Regions from separate parts of the Homo sapiens genome. Here region 2 is linked to region 1. Evidence: promoter capture Hi-C in 16 types of primary human blood cells and fetal thymus (Javierre and others, 2016). All regions are on one chromosome and are shown on one strand. The core of a region is centred on a gene start or on the middle of the fragment in contact, and the rest is flanking DNA. Distances in the headings are between cores, read along the strand shown. Region 1 holds the start of PRRG3 (proline rich and Gla domain 3). Region 2 has its middle 15 kb from the start of CETN2.

Evidence for each region. Contacts are between HindIII fragments. The CHiCAGO score rates a contact against its expected background, and 5 or more counts as called.
Region 2: a contact is called between a fragment that was not itself captured here and the fragment with the promoter of PRRG3 in region 1, in 1 of 17 cell types (M2 macrophages). The highest score is 5.2, in M2 macrophages.

What each region holds. Positions count from the first base shown.
Region 1 is chrX:151,692,501-151,697,925 of GRCh38, reverse strand. PRRG3 (proline rich and Gla domain 3) reads right to left here and starts at 2,468. Exons shown (of 4, transcript NM_001372163.1): 1 at 2,382-2,468. The HindIII fragment of the contact is 4,373 bases long and covers 1,907-5,425 here.
Region 2 is chrX:152,813,405-152,818,829 of GRCh38, reverse strand. No RefSeq gene overlaps it. Among named protein-coding and RNA genes, the nearest start is that of CETN2, 15 kb to the left of the region's middle. The HindIII fragment of the contact is 6,690 bases long and covers 1-5,425 here.

The DNA of each region.
Region 1 (5,425 bases), core at 1,219-3,718:
TAATGTGAGCTATTGTCAGAAAGCCTTTCTCCTGCTAAGGAGCTATCCAGCCAGTACTTAAACCATGGTCACAGCACACTGCTCCCTCTGTCCCTCCCCACAATACACACGCCCACTCATACACACATTCTAGAGCCCTTGCTGAGCTGTCCACATCTGGGAGCAATCACCCCACTGCTCCCCTCCCCAAGCAGAAGCTCTGGTTTGATGACTAACTGGATGCAAGACACGTGAACTGTGGAATCCATTGAGCCCTCCTTTTTGCCTAGGCTGCCAGGAAGTTCAGCGTCACTATTGCCAGTCAAGCACAGGCACCCTGGAAGCCCAGCTGTTAAGCACATATGCTTCTGTCCTGCGATGTGGTATACAGCTTTCTATTTATGTTTCCAGTGTCCTATTGTGCATTTATAATATGCCACCTAATCCTTTTGGCAAACAGGTAGGATATAAATCAATAATTTAGGCTGGTCGCGGTGGCTCATGCCTATAATCCCAACACTTTGGGAGGCTGAGGCGGGCGGATCACCTCAGGTCAGGAGTTTGGGACTGGCTTGACCAAAAAATGGTGAAACCCCATCTCTACTACAAATACAAAAATTAGTTAGGCATGCTGCGGTGCATGCCTGTAGTCCCAGCTACTCTGGAGGCTGAGACAGGGGAATCGCTTGAACCAGAGAGGCGGAGATTGAAGTGAGCTGAGATTGCGCCACTGCACTCCAGCCTGGGTTACAAAGCCAGAAAGAAAGAAAGAGAGAAAGAGAGAAAGAGAGGGAGAGAGGGAGAGAGGGAGGGAGAGAGGGAGGGAGGGAGGAAGGAAGGGAGGGAGGGAGGAAGGAAGGAAGGAAGGAGAAGGGAAGGGAAGGAGGAAGGAAAGAAGGAGAAGGGAAGGGGAGGGAGGAAGGAAGGAAGAAAGAAAGAAAGAGAGAAAGAAAGAGAGAAAGAGAGAAAAGAAAGAAAAGAAAATTAAAGGTAAAACAGCAGATCTGACATCTATTTGTGGAAACGCCACATCAAGGGGCTTTCTCTTTTGAACCCTGCAACAATCTCCCTCAAAACTATCAACATGTGAATTTGTCAACAGATGGCCTGCCTTGTGAGACAGTTGGCCCTCAATGTTTGTCAGAACCAAGATGGAATATGATCTCAAAATTCTGCTTGCATTATGGATACCTGAGCTTTATGTGGTGAGGGTGTGGATATAGTATGCCTCATGGCAAGGATTTTTTGCTTGAAGAAAAATGGAGCTGTTGTATCTGGGTTTGAGAAGAATGCATATAGTCTTAATAAGGGAAGAGAGAAAAATATGCTTATCAAAGGAAACTGCAGTGGTTTTTTAAAAAAATGGAGAAAAATTTACATAATAGATTACATATATCCATCTTTTGTCCCCCACACACCTAGCCTTGGTCAAAGGTGGCTATATGTCACACCTATCATAGACCCGAATACATGTTATCCTGACGCACCTGCTAAAGTCACCAGTTCATTTTTAAGCTTCAGTCGAGCCAGGAACACCCCCAAAACAGTTCCCATGGCATGGCCCACTCCATTAGCAATTCTGTAGCCACCTTCACTGCTGCTGCTGCCTGCCACGAGGCCTCTTCCCCCTCCCTCCCCAAAATGTAGCGCCTGCTTCTTCCCCTATAAATACACCATCAGTAGACAGTTACTATGGCAACAATAAGGAAGCAATCGTGAGGGCTCCACGACAAAGAATGATGCTGCAGCCACACATGTATATGTCCCCCATGCCCCTGGTGGATACTGTAAAGCTGACTGTAGGCGGAAGGAATTTTTAACCCACTCCCCGCAGGAACACAGCTGAATCCTGACAGCCTGGAAAGGAAGGAAGGCAGGGAACTGGCCACCACAAAGACCTTGCTTAACTCCACCCCAGACTGAAGCTTCTGAATCTCAGGCCTCTGGGACACAACTCCCAAAGTCCCTCACATGAAGCCTGGTGACCACCAGAGCACCTGGTGTCCCAAGACATGGCCTCCAAACCACTTCTCCAAACCCTAGACTTTATTTCCATCCCTCAGAACTGATCGCCAGGAAAGGGTTCTCCAAATCGCATGACTCATCGACCCACCCAGTGACACGACAACTCCCAAATTATGCTCAAACTCAAACTCTGGGGCCCCCTTGTCCCTTTCCACTCAGGCCAGCCCTGAAAGTGCCTGTCCTCGCCCACCTTCGCTGGACACCAGCGCCCTGACCCAGCAACACTCTTCTCCCGGAGCTGTTCAATACGCCCCATCCCCTTGGCCCGGACAGGCCTCTAGATCTTCCCTCCTCAACAATGCCCTGCACCCAGCTCGTTGGCCCTGGATACCGAACCGTGCCCTCGGGACTGGGACACCCAACCCAAATGGCCTCACCGTTCTCCGGGCCCAGAAGGCGGCCGCCCTGTTTGCGCACGCAGCCCGCCACCTCGCTGCTGCGCCTCTTCCAGCAGGGGCCCTGTCCCCGCCCACCTGCTCCCCGTCGGCCAAGCCCCCCGGTCCGGCCCAGCCGTCTCCTCCCTCCCTTCCTCCCCTCCCCGCTGCCCTCCCACCGCCCCGGGCACCCTGTCGCCCGCCCCTCCAGGGCCGAAGTGCGCCTGGAACCCCCGCCCCTCGCAGCCGGGCGCCCAGGCCCGGCCCATTACCTCGGCACCCCCCTGCCTGCCCCTGCTTTCCTCTGGGGGCTCCGCAGCTGCCCGCCCCCCACACCCCGCCGTTCCAGGGCTGGCCTCGCGCCCCGCGCCTCGCGCGCCACGACCGCAGTGCCCCGATCGCCAGGCCGCAATCGTCGCGCTGCCCCGCGCACCGGGCCGCCGGCCGCCTGGCCGAGTGGAGGAAGGAGGGGTGGGGGCGACGGAGTGGGCCGAGGGGGTTGGGAGAGCGGGCGGGCAAGCCGGGCCGGAGGGGCGGCGGCGCGCACCGAGCACCGCGCGCCCGCGCCCCACTCTGCCGGCGCCGCCCCTGCCCCCGCCCGTGCCGCCGGGGGGCGGGGCCTGACTGGCGGGCCTGGGGCACACAGAGGACCCTTGGTCAAAGCCCTGGTCCAGTCGTGACCCAAGGCGTGGGCCCTCGGAAGATACGGCGTAGCAGGGAGCTCCGGCGGCCGCTCCCAAGGCCCGCGCGCCAGGCGTCCCTGCGCAGCCCAACCCGCGTCCTGTCCCCACCCCCCGGGCTCACCTGCCATTCAGGCCCGCCGGGCTCCTGGGGCCAACGAAAAGAGAGGGGGGCTAGCCTGCAACCTAGGCCTGCCTTGCCAGGGATCCACAGGGCCCTCAGAAGAAGGACCGAGTCGAGGCCGCGTTCCGCCAATGACTGGGTGACCTTGGCTTCTTCACTTACCTACCCCCACCCTGCCCCGGGAAGGCAGGCTTCTCTCCTGCAAAGTCCGAGAAATGGGGAGAATTCTGCCTCCCTCGCGAGGCTGCAGCGATTTGAAGGAGGAAATGGGTTTGGAAAACTCTAAGGCTCAGTAAGGGGAGAAGGAATCTTCTGCGACTGCAAGGAGCGCTAGATGGGGGCTCCTTCGGAGGCCGCACTGTGAGAAGTTCAGCATGGCAGGACAAGACGCATAGCAGAGATTACACTAGTCCAGGAGGAACCACATGACAGGTCCACTGCTAAGAGAGGGGCAAAGGGGTTCCGGGTGGGCTGAGGTTCTGGGTCTAGGAAAGCCTCCCTCGGAGAAGGGGATGCTGGGTTTTTAGGGTTCCTTTTTGTTCTCTGCACATCTAGAACCCGGCCAGGCACTGGGGTTGGCGTCCTCTTCCTCCCTCCACCCCAAGTGTTGCTTTTGATGGGAATGAGTCTCAGAAGGCGGTTCCAGAACCACTCCCACCCCTATCCCAGGGCGGGTATTAGCAACCTGCCTTGCCAGGGGGCGGAAGAGGGGTGGGCGAAGGCCTTCATTGCCACCGGCCGCCTCCCCTCCAACCCCCAGGGCCTGGCTCCCCTAGCTCCCCCGATGCCTGCCTCTACACTTCTCTCCCCGCATGGTGCTTTCCCTTCCATTTCTGCCTCCTGTTAGAGTTCTTCCCTAGCTTGCTTGCTATTTCACGGCTGCAGGAATCTTCCTTACCCACGACAGCTCTTCTATGGCCTTCCCCCCATGCCTCCGGAGCCTGTGGGGCAGAATTCCACAGACTCTTCTGGAACTAACCTCTTGAGTTTCCTAGCCCACCAGCATGTTCCCATCGTGATCTTAACACCGCATAGACCCTTGTGCACTTGACTGTTAAAAAAGCAGCTCTTCCAGTATGTGCACAAGGGTCTATGGCTTCTGCCCTCCTTCTGGCACTCCCACTTTAGCTTCTGGCTCCAGCCACATGAGGCTACTTCTACTTCCCACTGCCCAGAATGCCTTTCCTCCCACTGTGGACCTGGAGCACTTGCATTCATTCTTCCCACACAGTGCGCATGACATCTCTACTGTGAGGTCTTGCAGGATCCTTCCTGCACCCCAGTCCGCCATTCCACTCTCAGGACTATCTGCAGAGACTATGAACATGGGGGCCTCGGTGGATAGCAAGGTGGGGGAGGAGGAATAGCAGTGCCTCTGGAGCGTAGTGCCTGCTGCACCTCTTGGTGGTACTACATAGTAGGCTCTATTATCTCCAGCAAGTGTTTGACCTCTCTGCATCTCGGTTTCCTTACCTTTCAGATGAGAATGATGCTAACAGTGCCTGCCTCAAAGCGTTGCTAAGCGGGTAGTGGAGCTAATCACATAGAATGTGCCTGGCGCTTAAGTGTGAGCTTAATGCACATCAGCTGGCCTGCATCCAGCTACCTTGTGTTCATTTGGTAGCTCACTTACGTGCACACTTGCCTCCTCTCTTGGGGCCAGGGACCTTGTCTCTTCCTGTGTCCCTACCATCTCGCACAGAACCTCATCCACAGCTGGTGCTCTCTAGAGACTTGTCAAGCTGAGGCTGGAGGGGCTGGGGCTGAGAAGGCCTCCATTGCCTTCTTACCTGCCCCCATTTCTGTTCCGGCAGAGCCGGAATTGTGGGTGTATGACCCATGGAGTCAGACAGGGCCCTGTGCTTAAGAGGGCTCTGGACACCTGGCTCAAGGCTGTGCTATCACCATCTTGAAATTCTAATGCTTTTTGAACAAGAGGCCTTCATTTTCACTTTCACTGGGTCCCACGAAGTATGTAAGCCATCGTGCCTATGGGTGGCATTTCCAATATCCCCGATCCTATCCCAGGTAACAGAATTCTCAGTCACCCACCACTTGTGATTCCTCACCTTCTCCCCTCTGCAAGCCTTGACCAGTTGCCTCTTTCCTCATGTCTCATCACCACCAATTCCATTACCTTCCTCCACATTGCCCCTCCCCAGCCCCATCCCTGTGCCTCACCCTTTGGCTAAGAGGAGCACTCTCTGACAACCTCATTTACTCCCAGAGTTTCACTCTTTCCC
Region 2 (5,425 bases), core at 901-3,400, 1.1 Mb before region 1:
CCTCCAACTTTTCTTTAGCTTGAAGATCAATCTTCTGGAAGGAAAAATGCCAACAAAAGAGGATTTATTTTCTTCCAAGAAATTGCTCTCACACTTCCTTACACTGACTAAAAGGCATTTTACTTATCTGTCTTCAGCATTTTCTTAAAGCCTCAATTCATTTTCAGCTTTAGCTTTCCCCAGATTAATTATTCGTTAGGATCCACACCATTTCGTATGTGCTTTTTATCCATCACTAGATCTGTCCCCTCCTTCTATCTTTTGCATTTATTCATTTATTCATTTATCCACTCACTCAGCAAATACTTAGCACCTATTCCGATCCAGGCCTTGCAGAGAAAAAAAATAAAGTCCCTGGCCTCGTGGAATTTACATTTTAGTGAAGAAGACAGGAAACAAGCTCAAACAAATAAAGGGGGGTAAGGAGGCGGAAATGGATGGAGGGGGTGCTATTTTGGGGAGGGTGGTCAGGGAAGGCCTTGCCATGAAGCCCTGTAAGGATCTGGGAAAGAGTGCCCAGGCAGATGGAACAGCAAGTGCAAAGGCCCTGAAACAGCAACAGGCTTGGCACAAGTGAGGAACAGTGAAGAAGCATGTGTGGTGGCAGCAGGAGGCAGGCAGTGAGTCAGGCCTCACAAACCCCATAAGGTAAGGGTATGTTCTATGGGGGATGAGGAGTCATCACGGGGTTCTGAGCAGGAAAGAAACCCGAATAGCATTGCCACTGCACTCTCTTTCTCTCCAGTTTGGCCTACACGCTTTTGTTTTTTTCTTAATCTTTCTTGCTTAGAATTTTAACTGCCTATAATGCCCATCCGGACAATTGCTCAAGGCACCAGAGCTTCCTGCTATGGGTTCAGGCTCCCTAAAAGGCCCATATGGCTAGTGTGATGGTTAATTTTATGTGTCAACTGGACTGGGCCACGGAGTGCCCAGACATTTGGTCAGACGTCATTCCCGGTGTGTCTGTGAGGGTGTTTCTGGATGAGATTAGCATTTGAGTTAGGAGACTGGGTAAAGATTGCCACCCATTATGTGGGTGGGCCTCATCCAGGTAGTTAAAGGCCTGAATAGAAAAAAAAGGCCAACTCTCCCCCAAGTAAGAGAGAATCCCTCCTGCTTGAAGGCCTTCAAACTGGGACATTGGCTTTTTCCTGCCTTTGGACTCAAACTGCAGCATCGGCTTCTCTTGAGTCTTGAGCCTGCTGGGCTTTGGACTGGAACTATGTCATCAGCTCTCCTGGGTCTCAGGCCTTCGAACTCTGACTGGAACTACATTATCAGCTCTCCTGGATCTCCAGCTTGCCAACTCACCCTGCAGATCTGGAAACTTGCCAGCCTCCATAACAGTGTTAGTCAGTTCCTTATAACCAACTTGTATATATTTATATATAATATAGACATAGATTTATATTTATAATCTAAATATATATGTTTAAATATGTATATTTATATGTATTATGTTACTCCTTACAAATGTATCTATCTTTCCTATTGGCTGCTGCTCTGGAGAACCCTGATTAACACAGGCAGCAGAGGGCGATCTCTCACCAAACACTGGCTGTTTCCCACGTTCGTCCTGTTGGATAGTTGTTTTCTCTGAAGGGGTGAAAAATCTTCCTCATTCCTTTTTTTTCCAGACAAAAGAAGGTAATTTCAGAGAAAGAGAGAAGCATAAAGAGTTGTTGGCATATGTGATAGGAGAAGTTCAGCTCAGATCAGGCCTGAGACGACCTAGGCAATGCATTCTACATGAGGCAGACACCAAAGTTCTTCTGCTAGTGACTTCAGCCAACACAGCATACTCTTCCTGGAAATCAAAGACCACGTTATAACCAGCAGTACAAGCTAAAGGGCAAAATTTTCGAAGTGGAACTTCTCTAACAGAAAAAAACAACAACAACAGTGGAACAGTTGGAAAGAAGGAAGAAAACTGACAGTGACAGAATGGCTATGTTTCCATTACGCATAATCTTGCATTCACGCACACATAAGAATACAAATGCAAAACAACACAAAACAAAAAGCAGAATGATACAATGGACTTTGGGGACTTGGGGGGATGAGTGGGAGGGGGGTCAAGGGATAAAAGACAACAAATATGGTGCAGCGTATACTGCTTGGGTGATGGGTCCACCAGGTTCTCACAAATCTCCACTAAAGAACTTACTCATGTAACCAAATACCACCTGCACCCCAATAACTTATGGAAAAATAAAATTTAAAAAAAAAGAAATCTGTGTTTGCCCACGTATAATGAAGATATTTTCCTGTGTTTTCTTCTGTAAGTTTTATAGTTTTGTTTTCCATGTTTCGTGTCTATTTCATCTTAATTTTTTGGTGGGTGGCAAAATTTTCCTTCTGAACCCATATGGAGACTCATTTGTTCCAGCATCACTTATTGAATAGTTTACCTTTTCCCAACTGATTTATAAATATATAAAAATTCTGCCATAAAAAAAAATCCATATATGAAAAAAAAAGAACACAAATGCAGAGAACAAGATCAGGAAAGATGCATACCAAATTTTTAACAGTGATTTTCTCTGGAGAGGGGAAGGAGGTTGGACGTGGCTACAGTGAAGTGGATTTTTAAATTCTATTCTGGGTTTGAATTTGTCAGAACAAAATTGTATTCATATATAACATTTATACTTAAAACTGTTCTTAGATACAGCTTCACACATGCTAGGACACGCTAGGACGGCTATAATAAAAAAATAAGGAAAATAACAAGTGTTGGCAAGTATGTGGAATAACTGGAACCTGGATTTATTGCTGATGGGAATGTAAAATGGTGCAGCCACCTTGGGAAACAGTGTGGCAGTTCCTCAGACGGTTAAGCATAGAATTATGATATGACCTAGCAATCACACTTCAAGATATAGATGCAAAAGAATTGAAAACAGGGACTTGAAAAGATATTTATACACCAATGTTCATAGCAACATTATTCATTATAGCCAAAAGTAGAAACCCAAGTGCATCCCAACAGATGAGTGGATAAACAAGATATGGTCTAGCCATACAATGGAATATTATTGAGCCACGAAAAGGGATGAAACTCTCATACATGCTATAACGTGGATGTACTATTAAAAACTACGCTTCCTGATAAAAACCAGACACAGAGGACAAATATTATATGATTCCACTTATATGAGGTACCTAGAATAGGCCAATTTTAGAGACAGAAAGTAGAATAGAGGTCACTGGAGGCTCAGGTGAAGGGGAAAGAGGAGTTACTGTTGAATGGGCATGGAGTTTTTGTTGATAGTGACAATTTTGGGGTATAGATAGTGGTAAAAGTTACACAACATTGTAAATATATTTAATGCCACTGAATTAGCAACAAATTGTTACATTGAAAAAGATTGTGTTATATATATTTTACTACAATAAAAAACTGACAAAATACTTAAGAGAAAGGGGTGTTATACTATTATATCCAGTTGCACCCTTTCATAGAGGAGAGAACAGTGGATTCCAGGATCTAGAGAGGGGAAGCCTCAGTTTTATGGGTAGCGGGCTTGCATGAAGCAGCAAATGCTACAGAAGTTTCTCGCAGCTGGAATATAATGAGACATGAGAATCAGCTGTCATCAGGCTCACAGTAAACTTTGTGAGTGAATGGACTGGTTTTATCTTTGCTCATCATTGCAACCTTAGTTTCTAGCACGGTATCTGGTGCCTGTAGGCACTCGATAAACATTTATTGAATGAATGAATGTATGCATGAATATCTGTGACTTCCTAGTAATCTATTAAAAAAAAACTATCTGTCCCATCAGTTTGGGCTGCATTGTCAATCATTTGATGCATAATTAGAAGAACAGGCCCATAATGCAAATATTTGGTTGTCATTAGCATAGAGATAGTGTATTAGTTGGGCCAGGTTAATTGCTTCATCAAACAATTTCTGTATTTCAGTGAGCTGACTCAATAAAGGATTATTTTTCACTCATGTTCAAAGTCAGTGGGGGTGGGTTGGGGTGGAGGCCGGGCTCTGTTTTATTCAGGGTATTAGACATCCAGCTTCCTCTTGTCCAGTAGTTCCAGGGGCCCCTAGGCACTCAGAGATCTCCACTGGCATTTTTTTTTTTTTTTGGCACCGGGCTGGCAGATGAATGAAAAGAGAGAACATGGAAGATCACGTGTGAGGTTTGAGTGGCCAGACCTGCAAGTGTTAAACATCTCTTCTTCCCACATCCCATTGGTCAGAAGCTAGTGGCACATAATCAAAAGGGATTCCAGGAAATGTGGTCTAACTGCATGTAAAGCAGGAAAAGGAAACCGTGTTTGGTGAACATGCAGCATGGTCCATGTTGCAGGTAATGTTGGAAGCCATAGATGAGGGGGAGTGCTTCTAGGTAAACTGTGGTGAGCCTGTTAAGAGAATGTAACCCAGCCCCGAAATCCTAGGAGCTTCCGTGTTTAAGAAGTGGGAAGAGGAGGAGAGGCCAAGAAGGGGGATGGAAAATAAGGAAAGCAACTGCAGGAAACCCAAGAGGATGGAAGGGCACAGAAGCAAAGGGAGAGGAAGTGGTCACCTGGGTGAAGCTAGTGAAGGCTGGAGTTTGCCCTCTGGATTTAGCAACATAAGCTCATTGACCTTAGCAAGAGCAGTTTGTGTGGTGTGGTGGGAGTAGAAATAAGATTGCCGTGGCTTAGGATTGAAAAGTGGCTGAGGAAACAGAGGGCCACATGCAGACGTTTTGAGAAATGTGACCGTAAAAGGGTGGAAAGAGAGTTAGCATGGTAGCTAGTGGCCATGTGGGGGTGGCAGTGGGAGAATTTTCTTTTTTTAATGGGAAAGACTTGAGAATGTTTGATTGTTTAGATGAAAGAAAATACAGTAAGTAAGAGTGTGGTATACTACCAGGAACGAATAAATGGACTATTGGAACAGAAGAAATAGTCTTGAAACAGGCTTATGTGCATATGGCAATCTGGTTTATGGTAGGGGTGGTATTAAAAATTGATGTGAAATGATAGGCCGTTTCTGAGACAGACAGGCATGCACCTATGTATGTGGTAATCTGTGTATATTGTATACTTTCATTTTTCCAGAAAGGATTTAAAACAGCTTAAAAAGATGAATTCTATGCAATAGAGTAAGACAAGCGTTTAAAGAGGGAGAAAATGACGTGGGGACAATGAGGGGAAACATGCATTTAGGTTTTACAACTTTAAGTATCTCTTTGATGCTGACTGCTTTAAACGTCCGTGCTAAGCTGATGTTAAGTATTTTGATCAACTAGTGCTGTGATCTATTAGACTGATAATTCTTTATGTAACTTGCTCTGCAATGTCCCATTTAAGGCAGAGATTCATATTTATTCTGGACGTTGTTCTGAAAAATCATGCAGTTTCTGCTCTTTGCTCCGTGTACTGTGCGACAGCCTTTGACCACAAGCAATAAAAC